Regions from separate parts of the Homo sapiens genome. Here region 1 is linked to region 2. The links are contacts of gene promoters, found by promoter capture Hi-C in human tissues and cell types (Jung and others, 2019). All regions are on one chromosome and are shown on one strand. The core of a region is centred on a gene start or on the middle of the fragment in contact, and the rest is flanking DNA. Distances in the headings are between cores, read along the strand shown.

Region 1 (4,833 bases), core at 1,556-4,055, 540 kb before region 2:
CACCCACCTCAGCCTCCCAAAGTGCTGGGATTACAGGCATGAGGCATTGCACCCAGTGGAAAATTGGGTGATGTTTATCCATTGTTTGTAACAGCCAGTAGTTTTGATGTAAAGTCAGCTGCCAGTCTGATCACCACTTTTGTGTAGGTTTTGTAGCTGACTTTTTCTATTTTTCTTTTGGAAGGTTTTAGAATGATTTCACTATTGCTGTTATTTTGAAATTTGTGATGAGCTTTTAGTCTGATTAAGTTAGGAATATTTTTTCTTGCACAGAGAGAAACAAATCCAAACCCAGATTAGCTTGACCAATAAAGGGATTAATATGCTCTGATAACAGTACAATTTGGATGACATGGATGCCAGCATGCTCCTGTTTCTTTCTGTGTCTCCACTCAGCCTTCCAGCATCAGTTCACTGTACCAAGTTGGCTGCCAGCAGCTCCCTGCTTCCTTGTTTGAGTTTAGCATTACTTATTAAAAGCTAACTTATTTGTTCCAGCATTCCCAGTAAAACTTCTGGGAATTGAAGTTGCCTAAGTAGCATATACACTTTTGAACCAATATTTGTAGCCAGTGGGATGACATATCCTACAAGGTTTAGTAGCTTTATGTCTGAGGATATAGTTTACAGATGGTTCTACACAATTGGCAGGAAGCATTTGAATATGGGCAGCTGCAGCATTACAGCATTACAACATCCCTGAAGGACAGTTGTGAAGAAAATCCTCCCATTGGGAAGAACTTTGGGCAGTGCACCTGGTATTCACTTTGTTTGGAGAGAGAAATGGGCAGATGTGCAATTATGTACCAGCTTATGGGCTGTGACTAATGGTTTGGTCTAAATGGTCAGGGACTTGGAAGTAATATCTGTAGAAAACTGGTGACAAAAAATTTTGAGAATATATATGGAGATAGATCTCTCTGAACAGAAAAAGAACATGAAGATATTTGTGTCCCATGTGAATACTCACAAAAGGGTGACCTCAGCTAAGGATGATTCTAATAATCAAGTGGCTAGAATGAGCCACGCTGTGGATACAATTCAGCTTTTTTCTCCAGCTGACACTGCCATGAACAAAGTAGCCTTGGTGGCAGAGATGGGATAAGGAAGGTGGACTTCCATAAATCAAGGTAACATGGTTGTGGCCACTACTGAGTATGCAATTTGCCAGCAAGAGGGACTGAACCCCCAATGTTAGATCATTTCCCAGGTGATCAGCCAGCCGTCTGGTAGCAGGTTGATTACACTGGGCCACTTCCATCAAGGAAAGAGAAGTGTTTTGACTTATTGGAAAGACACTAACCCTAGACATGGATTTGCCTTTCCTGCATTCAATGCTTCTGTCAAAGCTACTGTATTGGTCTGTTTTCATGCTGCTAATAAAGACATACCTGAGACTGGGTAATTTATAAAGGAAAGGGGTTTAATGGACTCACAGTTCCACATGGCTGGGGAGGCCTCAAAATCAGGGTGGAAAATGAAGGAAGAGCAAAGGGAAATCTTACATGGCAGCAGGCAAGAGAGCTTGTGTAGGGGAACTCCCCTTTATAAAGCCATCAGATCTTGTGAGACTTATTCACTATCATGAGACTAGCACGGGAAAGACCCACCCCCATGACTCAATTACCTCCCACCAGGTCCCTCCCATGACATGTGGGAATTATGGGAGCTACAATTCAAGATGAGATTTGAATGAGGACAGTGCCAAACCATATCAGCTACCATCCATGAACTTATAAAATGCCTTATTCACCATTATGGTGTTTCACACAGTATTTCTTCTGACAAGGAACTTACTTCACAGCCAAAGAAGTACAACAGGCCCACGATCATGGAATTCACTAGACTTACCATGTTCCCCACCATCTTGCAGCAGCTAGCTTTATAGAATGGTTGAATGGACTTCTGAACACTCATTGGCAGTGCCAGCTGGGTGGCACTGCCTTACCAGGGTGGGCAAGCTTCTCCAGAAGGCTATGTTCTAAATCAGCATCCAGTACATATGTAACTGTTTCTGCCATTGCAAGGATCATGGGTCCAGGAATCAAAGGGTTGAAATAGGAGTGGCACCATTCACAATTACCCCTACTGAACTATTAGACAAGTTTGTTTCCTGTTCCCTGGTTGCTATAGTTTGAATGTGTTACACAAAGTTCATGTATTAGGAACTTAATCCCAAATGCAATAGTGTTGAGAGGTACAACCTTTAAGAGGTGATGAGGTCATCTGGGCTCTGCCTTAATGAATGGAGTAATGTCATTATTTGATAAATGGATTAGTTATCTGGAGAGTGAGTTCCTGACGAACAGATGTGTTTGGTCCTCTACCTCCGCACTCTATTTTCTATGCATGCAGGCACATGTGCTCTCTTGACCTTCCTCCTTTCACCATGGTATGATGAAACAAGAAGGTTCTGCCAGATGTCCTTCGACCATGGACTTTCCAGCTCCTAGAACTATAAGAAATACATTTTTGTTCCTTATAAGTAACCCAGTCTTTGGTATTCGGTTACAGCAGAACAGAACAGACTAAGATACTAACTTTATGCTCTGCTGGCCTAGAGGTTTAAATTGAAAAGAGAGGAATGATTCCACCAGGAGACACTGTAATGATTTTATTGAACTAGAAGTAAAGACTGCTGTCTGGTCATTTTGGGCTCCTCATGACTCTGAGTCAACAGGCCAAGAAGGGAGTTGTGGCTTGAACTGAGGTGATTGATCCAGAATACTAAGGAGAAATTGAACTACTACTCCACAATAGAGATGAGGAAGACATGCCTGGAATACTGAAGATCCCTCAGAAAACATTTTAGTATTATCATAGCCTGTGACTAAGGCAAATAAAAAACTACAATAACTCAATCCAAATAGGACTATGAATGTCCCAGATCCTTCAAGAATGAAGGTTTGGGTAATCCTGCTAGGTAAAGAACTCTGGCCAGCAGAAGTGCTTGCTGAAGGCAAAGAGCAAATACAGAATGGGTAGTGAAAGAAGGTAGTAGAAAGATAAGCCTTGACCATATGTCCAGTTACAGAGATGAGGACTGTAATCGTCATGAGTATTTTCTCTTTATTTTGTTATGAATACATTTGCATATACATACACATATTATGCAAAATGTCATTATTTTCTTTCCTCTCTTTTCCTTCATCATGTAACATAAGATACATTGACTTTATATCAGTATTTAAATATTGTTAATTTTACATCATAGTATTTAAATATTGGATATTGGAAGAAGAGTAAACATCACGCCTCTTCTTGGGAAAGAATTAGCACACTTTTGGTTGTATGGGATAGTTTATTATGTTAGGTGGAATTATGATTCTGTTATTTTCTCTATTTGGAGGTTGATTGTTGTTTCAGAAAATGCATATGGGTACGAAGTTTACAAGGGGTGGACTTGTGATGGTAGATTTTATGTGTCAACTTTACTGGGTTAAAGGATGCCCACATAGCTGATAAACAGCTATTTCTGGGTGTGTCTGTGAGGGTTTCATTTGAATAAGTAGACTGAGTAAAGATTTCCCTCATCAAGGGAAATGGGCTTCCTTCAATTCATCAAGGGTCCAAATAGAACAAAAAAGGCAGAAGGAAGGTGAATTTTCTCTCTCTGAGCTGGGACACCTATCTTCTTCTAGCATTATATGTTAGTGTTCATGGTTCCTAAGCATTTAGATTTGCACCAGGACTCACATGATTGGCTTCCCTGGTTCTCAGGTCTTCAGACTTGGACTGAATTACAACCCCACTTTTCCTGGTTCTTCAACTTGCATATAGTAGATTGTGGAACTTCTGGGCCTCCATAATCTCACAAACCACCTCTCTGGAGAACTCTAATACACATCTTAATAATGATGTTAGCTGTTCCAGGAAATATTCATCATTCAGGCTCTTAGATTAGATCTTGCCCACTCCTGAGTAATTGGTTCATATCTTGTTCTTGTTAATTGGTAGGTCTGAAGGTCTATGTTGGAATTGTGCTCCAATTTTGGCTTCTACACATACTGGAAATATTTTCTCTCTTCCCTCAATTATATCTGAGTTTGCAGTGGTAGAGATTCTTATATTATCCATTTTGTTTATACTACTACCTACAAGCCAATCAGTACAAATGTCAGTTCCCACAAAGGTAACATATTTGCTCTCCAAGTGACAAAGACAAACTGTGATCAGAGCTGCAGATTTGAAAGGCTCTGAGTGAATAGATGTATTCCTTTCCTTAAGAGTGTAAATCTAAACTTCTCACATTGATGCATTTGTATTTTTAGACATGTTCCAGAATACAAACTTGTTGATAAAAGCCTATTTTTAACTTTTACATAGGATATGCAGGTATGAAAATAACAGGAAAAAAGTTATTCCCTATGAAGAGATTGCTAGGTGTTTCCTTTCTTACTTTCCAGTACTCTTTTTTATCGTTTTCAAGAATGAACCCTACAAAAACATATTTGAAAAGTCAGTTTCAACTCAGTCTCTGTGTTCAAAAGATGAACTTTTTAAAAAGTTCGACAACCATGGGCATGGCTAAAATCTATAGCTGAGGGATGATTTGTATTCTGAAAATGTAACATAAATCAATCAATCAAGGCATTATTTCAGAAAATGGCCTCTTACTTTTTGGGAGGTAATTCAAATTATGGTATACAATCAGAAGCCTCTAAAACCCCATAAAACATTGTAGTTACACTACTGAGCCCAGGCACTCCTTCTAAATGTGTCAATCCTGGCTCCAGTATTGCCCAGTTTACCAGTCATTGCAGAGGGATTTGTTTGGCATTGGGTGCTGCAGAAACTAAGAAAAAATATAGTATCTTCCAGCAAAGAAGGCAT
Region 2 (4,610 bases), core at 1,135-3,634:
GCCGGACTGCGGACTGCAGTGGCGCAATCTCGGCTCACTGCAAGCTCCGCTTCCCGGGTTCACGCCATTCTCCTGCCTCAGCCTCCCGAGTAGCTGGGACTACAGGCGCCTGCCACCGCGCCCGGCTAATTTTTTGTATTTTTAGTAGAGACGGGGTTTCACCTTGTTAGCCAGGATGGTCTCGATCTCCTGACCTCATGATCCACCCGCCTCGGCCTCCCAAAGTGCTGGGATTACAGGCGTGAGCCACCGCGCCCGGCCATAATTTTTCTTTTTTTAAAAAATATCTGTGTAACACATTGTTCATTCAGGCAGTTCCGCAGAATTCCATGTGTCAGACATAATTAATACAATTGGGGAAATACTGAGTAAGCGTTTTCGGCCCACACTTTTGTTTGAACACAGTGCATTATACCCACTCGATTTTAGTTTAATTCCCGTGCTGTTTTACATTTCTGTAAACTCTTTGAGGGAGTTCTGGGCGCCCACTGTCTAGCTCAGAGTTCCAGGCTAAGGTAGGCACTAATGAATGCTGAATGAATTGGGTAGCCAGTTAATTGCTTTTTCCCCCCTAAAAAAAAAGTCTAAATTACTTGAATAAAAGTATTTGCGGATTTTTAAATAATACATTTAATGGCAGATCTCTGTCTCCAAAACGTGTGTCCTTCTAGCGACTGAGGGTGTGGGGTGGGGTGAGGGGTGACTAACCAGTCCCCCTGAGATGGGCCCAACCTTAGCAATATTATCCATCTACCTGGGATTCCCCTACACCTGAACAGCTCTTTGGGTCCGCGAGAGAACCAGCGGGGTGGGGCACCCAATGCCAGGAGTGCGCGCGGAGAGACACGCTGAAGTTCACAGGAGAGTATTTACCAGCAAACAAAGGGCGGCGCGGTTTGGGGTCCTAGGACCAGCTGCCGCCGTCTCGAGAAAACGCAAGGGCCGCGGTGACAAGTGGACATTCCGCACGCGACCAGACCGACACTCGATGGGCACCTCCCCGCGGCCCCGCCCGCAGGCTCCAGCTGCCCAGCTCGCAGCCGCCCACTGGCTCCGGAGGCTGCTTCAACCACTTGTCCCGCCGGCTTCTACCCCAAGAACTTTCCGTCCCTCTTGGGGTTGGGGACCGGCAGTGTGGAGGGGCGGGCAGGTGGGGGTCTCCAGGGAGCACCGTCACCGGACTTGGCGAGCTACCCTTCCCAAATGAAAGGTGGCCCGCTCCCAAGTCCATCCCATATCCTTAGAGAAGCTCTGGGAGCGAGGGCCAGGCGGCAGTGCGGAGCCTGGTTGAGCGAGATGAACAAAGGGAGCTAGCGAGCCGGGGAGGATGCTGCGCTCCCCTGCGCCCCACCCAGCCGGCTGCCAGGCGCTGCCAGGCGCGCAGGTAGCCCGGCCTTCCGCGCTGGCGGGGGGAGGTGTTGGACAGGGTACACAAAGACTCACTTCCGCCGGGGCAGGCGCCGGGACTCCCTCCTGGCCGCCCACAGCCTGTGCGCATTCCTGCATTCCTGCCGCCGCCCGGGACCCGAGTGCCCCGGAGGTGTCCAGGCGCGGTGCCAGGCGGGTACTGTGCAGGTAACCTTCGGAAGAACTAGGGCTGGATGGAGGCGGCGGCCGGGGAGAAACACGCCTTTTTAGGCAGCCGTGCTGCCCCGCACCGCCCCACGCAGCCCAAGTCTGCAGTCACTCTCCGCGACAAGCAGAAATCCGCGCGCAGCCAGGGAGCGCCCCGCCTGCGCTCGCCGGCGGGCCGAGCTGCCGGGCCGGGGGCGCGGGGAGGGGGCAGCCCAACTTCCCAGTGCCCGGCTCCCGCCAGCTAGGTGAGCCTGGAGCGGGAAGGATGAAAGGGATCGCGGAGAGGGAGGGGGCTCTGGGGCGAGCGGAGCTCGGGGGCGGGGCGCGGCGCAGCCTCGGTGCGTGGGCCGGGAACCGCCGCCTCTCCCCGGGGCTCGGGGCCGCGGTTCCTCTGGCCGCGGGAGCCGCCGCCGCGCTGCCCGAAACAATGAGGCGTGCAGCGCGGGGCTGAGCGTAGCCTCCCGCCGGCTTTGAGGCCGAGCCACCCGCTGTGCCCCGCCGCCCGCGCTTGCAGCTGCCGCCGGCGCGGAGCAGCGCTGGCCCCGGAGAGGTGATCCCGCAGGCCGCCTGGGACGGGAGCGCGGGGCAGCTCCGAGACCCCACGGTGGCAGGAGGAGGACTCGAGCCTGCGGCAGGACGACTCCCGCCGCGCACTCGCCTTCTGCAGCCCCCAAGTTCCGCGGCGTGAGTCGGGGACCCCGGCCAGGGTCCCAGCTCTAGCGGGCGCCAGCGTGAGTGTGGGAGCGCGTAGCGCGCGCACCCGAGCGGCTGCCGGGGAATAAAATGTGACACGCACGCCTTGGACTCCAGTGCCGCGCTGCCAGGGGGAGCACCGAGCACCACGGTGTCGTGCGCTTCGAGGCGCGGCGTGGGAAGAAGGCTGGTAAGGGAGGGCACTGGGTAAGGGTTGGCGACGCCTTTCTTGGTGGCGCTGCAGCCTCCGCGCTGCTGTGCGCGGAGTTACACTCCGTGTTTAGGAGCGAGACCCGTGTGTGGGGAATGTTGAAGGTGGTTTGGGGAAAAGCAGGAAATTCTGGAGAAGCGAACGGGAGGACGGCTTGCGCTTTGGGGACGGGCGGATACAGTTGTGCCCCTGTGGCTCAGTAAAGGTGATCTTTTATTTTGGCTCTTTTGGCTCTGGAAGGGAGTGAAGATTTTTGTCTTTCTTCAGCCAACCCCCGTACAAAACTGCACTTCTTAAAGGTTAAAGTGTGTTCTGTTCATTTCTGGTTCTCTGTGGCTATAATGTTTGGGGTAGTAGGGATCTTTAGAATCCTAAATACCCGAGTGTTAATTCTTATGTAGTTGGCAGGCGGCAAACTCCGCTTTTGGGTTTACTTTCCGCGGTGTTACGGAGTGGATATTTGATGCATTCTTTTGAGTAGGGAGTGTGACGTCCATCTCATTCGGATTTGCCGGTTCTGTGTTGGGGGACTGAGTGAAGTTAAACTCAATGGCTCCCGCAAGTGCTGCCTTCCAAAGAGCTGAATAGCTGTGTTTGGAGAAGCTGTGCTTTCCAGGAATTTAAATGAGACTTTTTGTGATTGCCTTCCAGGTCTCTCCTCCTAGTACCATATTTGTTTTGTCAGGCTGAACTTTCAAAGCTGTTTTGTAATCTGAGAAGCACTTTTGGGGGGAAAGTAATGCTTGGCTGGATTTTTGTGAACTTATTTTTATTGGACATGCGAAAAATTTGGCGAGAGGCAAACCATATTTGGTTGAAATCATTGTCTTTTGCACCACTGCCGTTCTGACCATAAAGGGGCATGCTGACCCTCCTCGCCGAGGACTGCCTGCTTGGGTGAGGGGGGTCTTTGGTGGGCTGGAAGCACATTTTGTATTTAGAGAACTTTCTGCACACTTGAAAAACCCCATGCTGGTTACTTTGATGCTTCCCTTTTTTGAAATTCTGATCAACATTTTTTGCCAACTTGAAATATAATTTATGACCAAGGAAGAATTCCAATAAAGTGAAGTGCTATATATATATGATGTATATGTATATACATACACATATGTATATATGTGTGTGTGTGTATGTATATATATATATATATATATATATATATGCGCTGCAAATTTAGGGTTAAAACTTTTTTTAAAAGGAAAACTGATGTGTGGCCTTGAACCTGTTTTTACCCACTCTCCTTCCCCCATTATTTTTCTGGAACTGACAACCAAAATTTTTATATACCACTTGAGGAATTTTGTACTAATGCATTAAAAGAAACTGTTGGCAAAGGTGAATGGATATTGTGCTCAAAACTGATGAAAGTCTAAAATAATAGGTGAAGTGCCTTGAATTTTACTGCAAAGTTAAAAAGGCACTCTATCCAATTTTTGCCGCAATAGATACAAATGGTAGCATCTTACATTTTTGCTTGGTGCTGTGAAAGCTTCTGGAGTTTTGAGTTAAATGTCTTGTAGAGATTGTGATAGGAGTCACTGCTTTATATGGAGTACTGAGCTCCACAGTTTAGAGAGGCTTTGGATGGATACTCCTGGAAAGAGTGAGGTCAGAGCAAGGACCAACATTTGGTGAGTTTGCTATGTGGTGCACAGGATCTAGGAAGCAAGGATACAAAATTCAGGATTTTTAGACTAGAGGATTCAAAGTTGAGACAATTTAACATTTGAAAATATGTGAATGATTTATTATGCAGAAGAGGGCAGTTATCTGTGTTGAGTTTCTGATGAGGATAATTAAGAGGGAAAAGGTTTACTCTGTGGGGTGAAGACATAAGTTGAGTCTAGGGAGTTGTGGCCAATCCAGCCAGCAAAGATTAAATAGCGAAGGGACTGCTGAAAAAATTCCTGTACGTGCTTGTTTCTGGAGGTTCCACCCCCCCACCCCCGAGTTTCTCTTCTTTCTGAGATGATTTCAGTGTGTGAGGCTCTGGTCTATTGCTTATACTGATACTGACTGAAATTTTACCCTCCAGGTTTAGAATTTATCCAAGCATTTCTCAAATGATTAAATCTTTTCTGAAAGACAAACTGATTTCTAGGCTTCTGCCACTCCTTCTTAGGTAAAT

The links. The method cuts DNA at HindIII sites, captures the fragments that hold promoters and counts their contacts. A contact is called where the count stands out against the background at its distance.
Region 1: a fragment that was not itself captured here is called in contact with the fragment with the promoter of ST6GAL2 in region 2 in 1 of the 25 tissues and cell types used here (dorsolateral prefrontal cortex).

Annotation. Positions count from the first base shown.
Region 1 is chr2:107,423,645-107,428,477 of GRCh38, reverse strand. The region is part of intron 2 of LINC01885 (long intergenic non-protein coding RNA 1885); the gene reads left to right. Among named protein-coding and RNA genes, the nearest start is that of LINC01789, 60 kb to the right of the region's middle. The HindIII fragment of the contact is 5,422 bases long and covers 95-4,833 here.
Region 2 is chr2:106,883,941-106,888,550 of GRCh38, reverse strand. It overlaps ST6GAL2 (ST6 beta-galactoside alpha-2,6-sialyltransferase 2), which reads left to right and starts at 2,384. Exons shown (of 6, transcript NM_001142351.2): 1 at 2,384-2,458. It overlaps LOC124907864 (a long non-coding RNA gene), which reads right to left and starts at 2,018. Exons shown (of 2, transcript XR_007087169.1): 1 at 1,444-2,018. The HindIII fragment of the contact is 7,907 bases long and covers 1-4,448 here.